Linked DNA regions of Homo sapiens: region 1 is linked to region 2. The links are contacts of gene promoters, found by promoter capture Hi-C in blood cells and fetal thymus (Javierre and others, 2016). All regions are on one chromosome and are shown on one strand. The core of a region is centred on a gene start or on the middle of the fragment in contact, and the rest is flanking DNA. Distances in the headings are between cores, read along the strand shown.

Region 1 (5,737 bases), core at 1,345-3,844, 200 kb after region 2:
CCTTCCCCACCTTGCCTCAGGCAATGCTGTCGTCTCTCTCTGTGCAAACTGGTTGTAGGAATGGTAAAAATCACTATTTCTTACAAAGTTTTGATTAATGGAAGAAAGGATTTGTGAGGCTAGTCTTAAGCTGTAGCCAATCTGGTGTGTTTCCTGTGTCATTCTGTATTGTTCTGTCATAAAGAGGGGTACCTTAGGATAGAACATGGGCTTAGGACACCTATAAGCCTGCTGTTCAAGATGGCCCAGCAAACTGGTCAGTTAAAAACTTTGCTGCAGGTCCGTGAAAAAAACTGGATGAGGTTTCCCTCTTGTCTTGTATGTCCTTGGGAGCTTGACCTTGTAACCATGTGGCTGTGCTTTCTCTTTCACAGTGGTGGCCCGGGTTCAGGGTTCAATTCCCATCTTAGGAGATGAGTCCTTTATCTTTTGTCTGTGTATTTATGTGTATCATGTGTGTGGTGCTTGTATATAACAGAGGTTTGATTAATCGGTTAAAAATAATAAGTGCTTCAGTCATATTTTTGTGAGAAAAATTAAACATATAATGCCTTTTATATAGTTCATGTGACTTAAGTAATCTTTGGGAAATGAAGACAGTTTTAAAGATTATTGGTAAAATAAAAATATCTTAAAATGTAAACATTTGGTCTAAATTATGCAGGTCAGATATTAGGTTTGCTAAATGCTTTAAGTTCATAAGCTGCTGCTTTCACTTTTGAAAATTGTTTAATTTACCTACTTTGACCATATTAGAGTCTAGATAAGGCCTGGGGACATGTGATGTTAGCCATACCCCAAGCAATGCTAGAAAAAGTCAGACCTTATCTGCACTTCTGTCTGTGTCCTAGGCTGCACACCTAGTACATAATTAAAATGCTTACCAACCAGGGTTTTCACCAAAAGTAAAAATCGCTGAAAGTTAACATTGTAACATGTAATTGAGACTACTGAAGAATAGTTCTACACATAAGGTGTGTAAGGAAAGTGAAATGTGTTTTTGGTAAAAGATCATTAGAAGTCATGAGAATGTAAATTTTCTTCCTTAGATTAAATGGTTAAATTATTGTTTTAAGTTAGATAGAATGAAGCTGAAGGTTTAAGAAAGTTTTGGAAAGTGTGAAAAATTAATTGTAGGACATTCTGTGTGTGAATATATTAGTTAAAGTTAAAGGGGTATTCAGTTTTTCTATAAATTAAACATTGGAATAAAAGCACAAGTTTTTTTAGAGCAAAAACCTGCTATGATTTGCTCTTTAACAAAAATATGTAAAGGGTTATAAAAGGTTTGTGAGAATCTTACCTTATAGTCAAACTGATTAAGATTGAATACATTTGTCTATAAGGTTTTATAAAGAATTGGGTTTGTCATCAATAATGCACTAATGCAAGAGTCACATTTGGCTTATTTGGTACAAAAACCACACAGGAAGCATTATCAAATGTAAAATGGTGTTTGGATTTTTGGGGGCTGTAATTGTATAAATGTATTATTGGTATATATTGAAAATTATTTTTAAAAGTCTTATAATTCTGATATGACTTGGTGTATATTGTGAATAATTATAATTGTTACATAAAATCATTGTATACCACAGAAGGAAGCAAATTTCCTTATCAATTGAGACTTTAATAGTGGCTGTCCTAAGACTTTTTGTCATCCACACACAATTGTTGTCTTTTAATCCTCTTCAAAAGTTGGTTTATAATCAACTGTAGAACTCTAACAGGTGTTCTTAAATGCAGATTTCTGATAACTTTGGAAATTGTGATATTAAAATAAAGGAAAACACTTTCAGAATACTCATGGAGAGCTGAAATGTTCAGGAATATCAAGCAGAACAGAAGTTAACTGCATTGACTGAACTAATAGAAGACTAAAGTAATCATTTTAACTTTGCTTAAAATGCTGCTGATCCTTTGTTTTGTTTTTCAGAGTCAAGGAAACTTATCTTTTGAGCTATTTGCAGCTTGTAGCAATTGAGTAAAGTATATTGCTGTGAATAACATTTGAAGCATATTTAGTTCTCTCTACCTAATTTCTCCAGAATGTGGAAACTATTTGTGAGTATTCTTACATTATGGCAATATAGTTATTTGCATAAGTGCAATAAGAACCTCTTTTCTTTTGCAACAGGACACAATTGGAAACAGTGGTTATTTTACCAACGCTTTGACTGGAATGGCACGTTTTCCTTTAAGGAATCAAACTTGACTTGTAAAGCCAATAAAAGCCCCTTGGGGAATTGGCCTCAGACCTTGTCTACAACAGCCCCTGTACAGGGTTTCTGACCTGTGGTAAGTAAAGAATGTCACTTTCTACAGGTCCAGGATCCCCAGGTTATCTTGGGACCCCAAGAGGAGGGGAATTTACTCATCTCATAGGTATTTGAGGGTACAAACCTATGGCAGGGCTCAGCTCTGAAAAAGTCTTATCTGAGATTCTTTCTATGGAATAAAGTTGCATCAAAACCAATTTAAAAAGTGGTTATGTAAAAAATAATTATTCTCATTGCACTTTATACAACTAATCAGGCCAATTATAGTAAAGCAAATCAGTCTTACCGTGATTTGTCTTTAGTAAAAATGGGAAACTGGAGAGAGAAATTATGTTTCAGAAACTGTGGTACACTTGTTATTAAATTCTAGTCTCATCAGTTGTTTTTAAGTTTGTTTCTGCAATTTAGGCTAACCCTGCTTATTCCTCTGAACCAACTAGTGACATCTGACTGCTGCTCAGAAGAAACAAGAGGGATGGGTAATGTAAAAATCTAAATCAGTATTCTAATTCTGAGCACACTTATGAATCTTCCAGATATCACCTTTTGTCAAAACTCGGAGTTATGAATTGCCCTCGCCATACTGATGCTTTCTGACTGAGCTCCTCTCTACCCTGAATACAAGAGACTCTCATAGTTAAGCAAGAATATCATTGCTCCTATTCAGCATGAAGAAGTTACAGAAGATGGATTTTCAACCCTCTGCAACCCTTAGGATTAAAATTATACAAACCTTTAGGATTATAAAAGGGAGGGGGTAATGTCAGGCGTGTGAACCAGAGCAACTCCATTTTGAGTAGAAGCTGTGTAAAACGAGGCTGAAACCTACTAGGCTGCATTCCCAGACAGTTAAGGCATTCTAAGTCACAGGATGAGATAGGAGGCTGGCATAAAATACAGGTCATAAACAGCTTGCAGATAAAACAGGTTGCAGTAAAGAAGCTGGCTAAAACCCACCAAAACCTAGATGGTGACAAGAGTCACTTCTTATCATCCTCACTGCTACACTCCCACCAGTGCCATGATAGTTTACAGATGCCATGGCAACATCAGGACATTACCCTATATGGTCTAAAAAGGGATGCATGAATAATTCACCCCTTGTTTAGCATATCATCAAGTACTAACCATAAAAATGGGCAACCAGCACTCTGTCTATGGAGTAGCCATTCTTTTATTGCTTTACTTTCTTAAACGTGCTTTCACTTTACTCTGTGGACTCATCCTGAATTCTTTCTTGTGTGAGATCCAAGAACCTTCTCTTGGGTTCTGGACCTGGACCCCTTTCCTGTAACATCTTTCTGGTGACCCAGATGAGCCTATAGTGCAGATATTCCCAGTAAGTGCTAGGATCCTGTAACGTCTTTCTGGTGACCATGGAATGGTCCCACTATACTGTGGAAACCCCCAACTCAAAGGCTAACTTTGGGTAAGTGGTGGGGTCCAATAAGAAAGTTAGTGTTAATTTTGTGCAAGGTTTCAGTTCATATTCTGATTTCAGTTATCAAAATGTAATTGACAATAGATGCATGGGTGTATTTCTGAACTCTCTGTTCTGTTCCTTCCATTCCTTCCATCTATGTACTATAAACCAAAAGTATCTGAGGCAAGCCTTAATCAATTTAGAAGTTTATTTTGCCAAGGTTAAGGACATCCCCGTGACACAGCCTCAAGAAGTCCTGACAACATGTCACCAAGGTGGTCAGGCTACAGCTTGCTTTTATACATTTTAGGGAGACATAGGACATCATTCAATACTGTAAGATGTACATAGCTTCAGTCCAGAGAGGTGTGACAACTCAAATCAGGGCTTCCAGATCACAGGTGGATTCAAAGATTTTCTGAATGGCAATTGGTTGAAAGACTTATCTAAAGACCTAGAATCAACAGAAGGGAGTGTCTGGGTTAAGATATGGGGTTGTGGATACCAAGGTTCTTATTATGCAGATAAAGCCTCCAGATAGTAGGCTTCAGAGAATATCAGACCTAAAAAGTCTATTCTGTCAGTCTGAAAGTCGCTGTTTCTATGTTAATGCTGGTCAGCTGTGCCTGAATTCCAACGGGAGGAATGTTTAATGAGGCATGTCTGACCACCCATTCCCATTGTAGCCTGAGCTAGTGTTTTAGGTTTACTTTAAAATGCCCTAGCCTGGTGCAGTTGTTCATGCCTGCATTCCCAGCACTTTGGAAGGCTGAGGCAAAAGTATTGCTTGAGTCCAAGAATTTTAGACCGACATGGGCAACGTGGCAAAATCTCGTCTCTACAAAACAATACAAAAATTAGCCAGGTGTGATGGCCTGTGCCTGTAGTCCTAGCTACTCGGGAGGCCGAGGCTGGAGAATTGCTTGAGTTCAGGAAGCAGAGGTTGCAGTGAGCTGAGACTGCACCAGTGCACTCCAGCCTGGGCAACAGAGTGAGACTCTGTCTCAAAAATATAAAATAAAATAAAATAAAATAAAGTAAAGTAAAATAAAATAAAATATAAAATAAAATAATAAAATATAAAAAATATACCCTTGGCCAAAAGGAGGGGTCCATTTCATTGGTTGGGGAATTTAGAATTTTATTTTTGGTTTACAGTATCTCTTTTTTTTTCTTTTGTTACAAATGGGGTTCTTACTCTGTTACCCAGGCTGGATTATAGGCATGAGTCACCGTGCCAAGCTATATACATATTTTTATGCCAGTACCACAGTCTTGATTACTCTAGCTTTATGGTAAATTTTGAAATTTTGAAATCATGTAAGTCCTTGAACTTTGTTCTTTCATTAAATCATATTGGCTTTTCTTGGTCCTTTGGATTTAAAAGATAAATTTTAGGTTCATCATATCAATTTCTTTTAAAGCAAACCCTAATGGTATTTAGATAGAAATTATATTGAATCTATGGATCAATTTTGGGAAAACTGACACCTTGATGATACTGTATTTTCCTATTTGCAAACATGGGACATATCTCCATTTATTTAGGTCTTAATTTCCTTTGACAATGTTTTATAATTTTCAGTGTACTGTCCTGTACTTCTTTCATTAACTTTATTTCTAAATCCTTTATTCTTTTTATGCTATTTGTGAATGTAATTTTTTAAAATTTCCTTTGCAGTTGGTTGTATGTTGATTTTTGTATTTTTATTTTCTTACCTTATTGCACTGGCTGGAACTTTTAGTCCAAGGTTAAATAGAAGTGGTGAGAGTGTACATCCTTTTGCCTTGCACCCAGTCTTAGGAAGAAAGCATCCAGTCATTCACCTTTAAGCATGTTGTTAGTCATAGGTTTATGTAGCTGCCTTTTATCAAAGTAAGAAAGTTTCCTTCTATTCCTAGTTTATTGAGAATTCTACCATGAATAGTAGTTCAATTTTATCAAATGCTTTGTCTGTGTCTATTGAGATGATTATATGGCTTTTTCCTTTAAGGGTCAGCAACATTTTCCAGAAAAGGCTATATAGTAAATATT
Region 2 (6,483 bases), core at 2,833-5,332:
TAGCACATCACGATTCAGATTAGCGGCTCATCAAGTTCTCAAAAGCCACATGCAGCTGGTAGCTGCCATATTGGACGGCACAGCTCTGTAACCTAAAACATCTGGACATGCACTTGGAAAAGTCAAGTTTTTAAAAACTTGGGTTTTGGTGAATTTGTTTTCCTACTCATCCCAGAATAACTGACCGAAAGAGCTGCGGCTGGGTCACCAGTCGCTGGCTGGCTAAGGGCAGAACCCATCTGTCCCTGGCTTGTTAGACCCTTCGTAAGCCACCCACCCTCCTCAGGGAGACTGAGCCTGGAACAGACAGTGAACCCTGTTGTTCTTTTCTGGGGAGACAAAGCTGCAGGCCCTGCTACCTGCCTGACAGGGCCATTGTGGCTAGAGGAGAAAAGGGCTTTGTCAGGAAGCAGCCGAGAAGACTGCAGTTCAATGGGGCCCTTTATGTCTACACTGGCAAGATGCTCTGATGCCAGCCCTGTTGAGGCCCAGCCCCCTTTTAGAACAGATGGGGAGCCTGAGGCCCAGTGAGGTTGTGAAAGTCCCTGCAGTGGATCCTAGCCTCCTTCCCCTCATGCCACTGCCCTAAAACATGAGATTCTCCTGACTCTGAAAAGGCCGGTCTTGAAGCATAGGATAAACTCAATATTGCCCTTAACCCCTGACAAGGAGGCCCCTTCCCTGACCCTAAAATTTAGAGGTTCCACAAATCACAAACACATACAAAAATAAATGCATTAAAGAACATATATGTGCATCTGTCTCTCAGGATCTGGGCTTAGCTCTGGCAACTACAATCTGAAACATCCTCTCTTGTGATTCAAAAAGGCCACTAAGAGAAGCCACTATTTAAAGTGTTCTCAACATACACGCATGTATGCACACACACGCACAATATAACTAAGTGAGGTGATAGATGTATTAATTAGCTTAATCGTCGTTATCATTCACGATGTACACCTATATCAAATCATTATGTTGTACATTTTAAATATATATAACTTTCATTTGTCAGTCATACTTCAATAAAGCGAGGAAGAAAAAAGGTCAGACCAGAGGGAAATACTCCGAATCTCTCACCCTATGTTCTTGGAATAAAAGCAGTCAAGTTTGAATGCAGTGAGGGTTTGAGGACTGTACCACTCCAGGTTCAGTGCTGACTCCGTTTTATAGCACAAGGAGGAGCTGAACAGCAGAAATGCTTAGAGAAGAGAAAGATAAGTTGAATTCTCTTGTCAAATTCTCCCTTGCAGGTAGCATGGATGCATATATTTTTTCATCATGAAGTCTCACTTCCGAATAGGGCCAATCATCTAGTGTCTTGCTGCTCTGTGTTCAAATTCATATAGTCTTGGAGGTGTTCCCCTCTACCTGAACGGTGGTACCACACACCTCCAAAGTTAGAGGCGGGCCTGGGCACACTCACCTGCAGACTTGGATATATTCTGTTGGCAATGGCTATGACTTCTGTCAACTAAAAGAAAATCAAGCTTTTAAGGAATTAAAGTTAGTTTTATTCAGAAGTCTTACTGAGGTTCTGTAATCCCAGCATTTTGGGAGGCCGGGGCAGGTGGAACACCTGAAGTCAGGAGTTTGAGATCAGCCTGGCTAACATGGTGAAACACTGTCTCTACTAAAAATACAAAAATTAGCTGGGCGTGGTGGTGGGCGCCTGTAATCCCAGCTACTCCGGAAGCTGAGGTGGGAGAATCGCTTGAACATGGGAGGCGGAGCTTGCAGTGAGCCGAGGTCGAGCCACTGCACTCCAGCCTGGGCAACAGAGTGAGACTCTGTCTCAAAAAAAAAAAAAAAAAAAAAAGCAGAAGTCTTACTGAGGACTAGAGACTGAAGACAAAGTCTGGGAGGAGTCTTTCAGAGAGGTCCTGTCCCACTGCTCTGAAACAGTGTTTTAGCTCATAGCTGATATACACGTAGCAGAAGTGCAGTATGTGCTCAAACATTACATCAAACTTGCTCAGAAGTTACAGTAAAGCAGAATCACATGAAAGTCTGGGTGCAAGAGTATATCTGGTTATAGATGATAGAGGCATAGTCACTAACCTTGTCAAACATTATCCTATGTGTAGGAATAGGCAAGGTCTAGGGTCATTTATCTTTTAAGAAATATAGTGTCTCAGGCAAAAGTTGTGGGGGCCTTGTGCTGTATCCTGCTTTGTTTTCAAAGCATTTTTCCAGAGAGGTGCACATCATTACAGAATCAAGGGCTTGTGAAATTATGCAGCAAGTAAAATGAGCAAACGTGGCTTGTTACATTTGCTGTGTCTCACATTTCCCTTTCTCTTTTAACCTCTCCCTTCCCCAACCCGATCCCGACCCCTTGGAGAAGGGGCTGTTGCATTTGACAAAGAAATTGATCCTTATGTAGAGTAAGCAACTTGTTTAAAGTCATCCAGCAAATTAGAGGAAGCCCCATGCTGGGAGAACCCATCCTTAGAGGCCCAGCTAGAGGTCCGCAAGTAGACAGTGGAGGGTCGTAGGTAGGAGGACAGGCTTGGGGTCAGAGCAGCTCGGTTTACACCTGGCACCCTCGTTCACTAGCTGTGCAACCTTGGGAGCAAGTGTCTCAGAGTATTTAAAGGACAGTTTTTTCTATTCCTATACAAGATGTTAACATTAAGGGAAGCTGGTGACAGGTATATGGGAACTCTCTATACTATTTTCGTAACTCTTCTATAAGTCTAAAATTATCTCATGATAAAATTTTTAAAAATAACAGTTTCCTCTTATCTGTAGCATGGAAAGAGTAAGGATATCTGTCTCCTAGGAGGCTTCGATGAGACAGTGCCTGGAAAGGGGTTAGCACAGTGTCTGGCCCATGCTGACGACTCCATACATAACAATTCTTAAAAGCTGCCTCCTCCAGGAAGCCGGTGAGCACCACTGGCAGAACCAATCACTGCTTTCTCAGTAGCCCCACACCCTCACTGCCCAGGAGCAGTTTATTTCAGTGTAAAATGCCAGGCGGCTTAATGTGACCACTGACAGCACGAGTTTGATCCTGGCTTTTCTGCTTCTCAGCTGAGATCCCCAGCAAGTTACTTGAGCACTTTGTGCCTCAGTTTCCTTTTGGTAAATAATAAAAGTCTGTACATTATAAGGCGGTCATGAAGATTAAATGAACTGGAATTTTTCAGCACTTAGAACTCTGCCTGGCCTATAGCAAACTCTACATACCTATTTTTATGCTCCAGGTCAGTGGTTTTCTAACTTGCTTTTTACTGTTACCCATAGTAACAAATATGCTTTCCATCACAACGTGTGTATGTGTGTGTGTGTATAAATAATTTTAAAGTGGTAATTTCAAAAACATTGGTCTCTAAGAGATGATCACATTTTGTTTCCCCCATTAAAATATAAGGTACTTGGGGGACAGGGAATAGTCTGACTCATTTTGGTCTCCAATCACTTCATTTCCTTCTTTCATTTAATTTACCAAGCTCCTATTATCTATTCATTAGACATAAATATATATTGAGCATTAACTCACTATGTACCTGTTACCTACCAGCACAGATCAGACCTGGGTTGAATCAATGAACGGGTAAGGCAAGGAAAGGAGGTCGCAGGGCAGAAGGCAGGGAGGAAGGGCAGGAGGGTGAAATGGAAGGAAGGGAGGAAAGGTGGAGGGGAGGAAGGAGAGGGGGAGGGTAGGAGGGCGAGAAGGAAGGAAAAGAAGGAACCCAGGTTCCCAATTGGCAGCAGTACCCACTTCCAACCCCTATGTTGCCACTTCCACCTCGGCAGGAAAGTTGCCCCTTCTCCAGCCATCTAGGTCCCCTGTACTCTTTCCCTGGGGATGGAGCTGGGTGCCGGTGCAGGCATCGGAGGAGCGGTGCCGGGGAACCCGCCTCCTCACCTCTTGCCCCTAGCACGGGGCGGTGACTCCAGAGCTGGGAGCCTGGCAGCGTCCTCACCCCAGGAAGGCATGCGCCCCTCTGCGGGCGGCCCCAGCCCTGGGCCCCCTGCCCCCGGAATTGCCCAAGATGCCGGGTGACTCCTCCCCGGGGACTCTCCCACTCTGGGACGCGTCACTCTCCCCACCCCTGGGTCCGGACCCCGGCGGCTTCTCGCGCGCGAGCCACGCGGGGGACAAGTCGCGGCCACCTGCTCCGGAGCTGGGGAGCCCGGGCGCCGTCCGCCCGCGCGTCGGTTCGTGTGCCCCGGGCCCCATGGAGCTGCGGGTCAGCAACACCAGCTGCGAGAACGGTGCGTACGGCAGGGCTGGGGACCAGGCGGGCTCCGCGCTTCGCGCCCTCCCCTCCTTGCCACCGCTCTCCCTCGCATCCTCTCCTCCCAGGGGGGCCAAAGCTGGGGAGGGGCAGGGCCAGCACGAGGTGGCTCCCACCCAGCTTTGAAGATCTGGGTTCTGGCTGAGACTTCACTTTCATCTTCGCAGCTGGGATGGCTGAGAGGAGTCAGGGAAGGAAAGTATGTCCCCTGGGTTGAGATGGGGGGTTAGTGGGGGGCAGGCATTTTGACGACAGCAGACACCCTGAGAGGTGGTGGGGGCGGGGGGAGGATTCTGTGTTTTTAATGTGTAGTTGCTTCAGGTTTTAGTACCTGCGCAGTTTGGGCTTTCTCTCTGGGTCAATGGGAGGACCATCACAGGACGGTCTTGTCTTTGGAAAAGAAAAAGAACCACAGGAAGGGGTAAAGAAAGACCCCTGACTTCCTATTGCGTTCTGACCATAAAGCAGGTAGTGGACTAGGCCCTTTACCCGCATTATCTCACTGAATCCTTAAAACAACTCTAGAAGGTAGGTAGGTATTATTATTTTACTATCTTGCTATCCCCACTCTAAAGATCCAGAAACTGAGGCTCTGAGCAGCTAATAATTTGCTCAAGGTAATACAGTGAGGAAATGGAATATAGATCCAAGGCTGGTGGACAGTAAAACCTCAACTCCTTCCTTGGTGTGGCTCCACTTTCCTACCTTGTCTTGGAACTGCAGGCTGTGGCATGTCCCTGTTTCTCTAACCTCTTCCCTTCTACAGTGAAGCTTTCAAAGCCAGCCTGTTAGGTGTCTGACTTTGGTTTCCTGAACAAGGCAGGCATTTTCAGCCTCACCTTTTCTCTAGGCCAGAATGTGTTCCCCAGTCCTAGCATATTCTGGAAGAGATAACAGGAATCATCTGGCCCATGCTCAGAATTGGATTACTTTGGCCATCAGCCCTCTGTCTTTTACTTTTCACTGCAGTGGGAGAACTTGACTCAATGGAGGATGCTCAGCCCTTGGGTGTTGCGGGCTTTACTGTGACAGCCAAGTCCATCCACAGAGGGTTCGTTGGCTCCATCTGCTAGAGGTGCACCTTCAGGGAGCAGGGGAAGGGCGTGGGGATGAGTTTGGTCTTCCTCTCAGGAGTCACCTCCCCTAGCCCATGTTCTCCCAGGTTCTGGCTCATTTCCTGGGCTCAGGGAACTCCCCAGATTCAGCTCTTGGGCAAGGAAGCCTGAGCTGGAGAAACAGGAATGAGCAGTGCAGAACAAGTCTGATTAGGGACTGAGATGCCTCTTGTCTCATCTTCCCTTGATTGTGACACGAGTTTTGGAAAGAGAGATATCACACTGCAAAAGACACATGGATGTGCCCCAGTGGGTGCTGGATCCAGATCTTTCACCAGATGTTGGGGTGACTTAAGCAAGCTCTTCCCTTTCTCAGGGCCTCAGTTTCCCCAGAAAAAATAAGAATTTAGACTGCTTTCTAAGGGCTCTTCAAGCTCTGTTATTCATGGGTCTGTGTCGTGGAAGAAAGGTCAACATTGCCTTTAGTCTGTTCCACCAAGATGCCACTCTGCCCTGCAGATGTGCCAGAGCCAGAGTTGCTTGACCATGGACTTTGGGGCCCTTCCAGGCACTGCCTGGGAGTTCTAGGTTGGTGGGAGAAATACTTGGTTGAGGCTTACATCCTTGGCATAGGGACCTGGGCCTTGGTGACACACAGCTTGAAAAAGGCTACCTCCAGAGGTAACAAACTCAGATGCCTACAAAGGCCAAGCACGTGCTAGAAATTACTGAAAGGAGCCAGATAAGACTCTTGGGGAACTGCAGAGAGTATGTCCTATTTTAGGGGGCAACACTGCCCAGCTGCAGCCAGTTGTTGCCTTAGAAGAGGGCCCAATATGGTAAGCAGATCTGATTTTTCACCGTAGCCTCCCATCTGAATTTTCATGGAAAATCTCCCAATTTTTAAATGTTTTCTATTTTAAAATACCTCTTAGGGCCAGGCACGGTGGCTCACGTCTGTAATCTTAGTGCTTTGGGAGGCTGAGGCAGGAGGATAGCTTGAGGCTAGGAGTTCAGACCACCCTCTGCAACATAGCAAGACCCCCATCTCTACACAAAAAAACAAAAACAAAAACAAACAAAAAGCCTCTTAGGAGGCCAGATGCTACCTGCTTTATTGAGGTGTGTGTGATGGTTAAGAGCCTGGGCTTTGGCATCAGATAAGCTTAGAATCTGAC

The links. The method cuts DNA at HindIII sites, captures the fragments that hold promoters and counts their contacts. A CHiCAGO score of 5 or more calls a contact.
Region 1: a fragment that was not itself captured here is called in contact with the fragment with the promoter of NIPAL4 in region 2 in 1 of 17 cell types (activated CD4 T cells); the score reaches 6.8 in activated CD4 T cells.

What each region holds. Positions count from the first base shown.
Region 1 is chr5:157,655,714-157,661,450 of GRCh38, forward strand. It overlaps LOC105377675 (a long non-coding RNA gene), which reads left to right. Exons shown (of 3, transcript XR_941127.3): 2 at 2,138-2,298; 3 at 2,816-5,737. It also overlaps a transcript of SOX30 not described here. Among named protein-coding and RNA genes, the nearest start is that of SOX30, 6.1 kb to the left of the region's middle. The HindIII fragment of the contact is 8,214 bases long and covers 1-5,737 here.
Region 2 is chr5:157,456,131-157,462,613 of GRCh38, forward strand. NIPAL4 (NIPA like domain containing 4) reads left to right here and starts at 4,083. Exons shown (of 6, transcript NM_001099287.2): 1 at 4,083-4,227. The coding sequence starts at 4,191. It overlaps NIPAL4-DT (NIPAL4 divergent transcript), which reads right to left and starts at 3,970. Exons shown (of 3, transcript NR_136205.1): 1 at 3,878-3,970. RefSeq lists a silencer at 3,977-4,136. The HindIII fragment of the contact is 3,531 bases long and covers 1,489-5,019 here.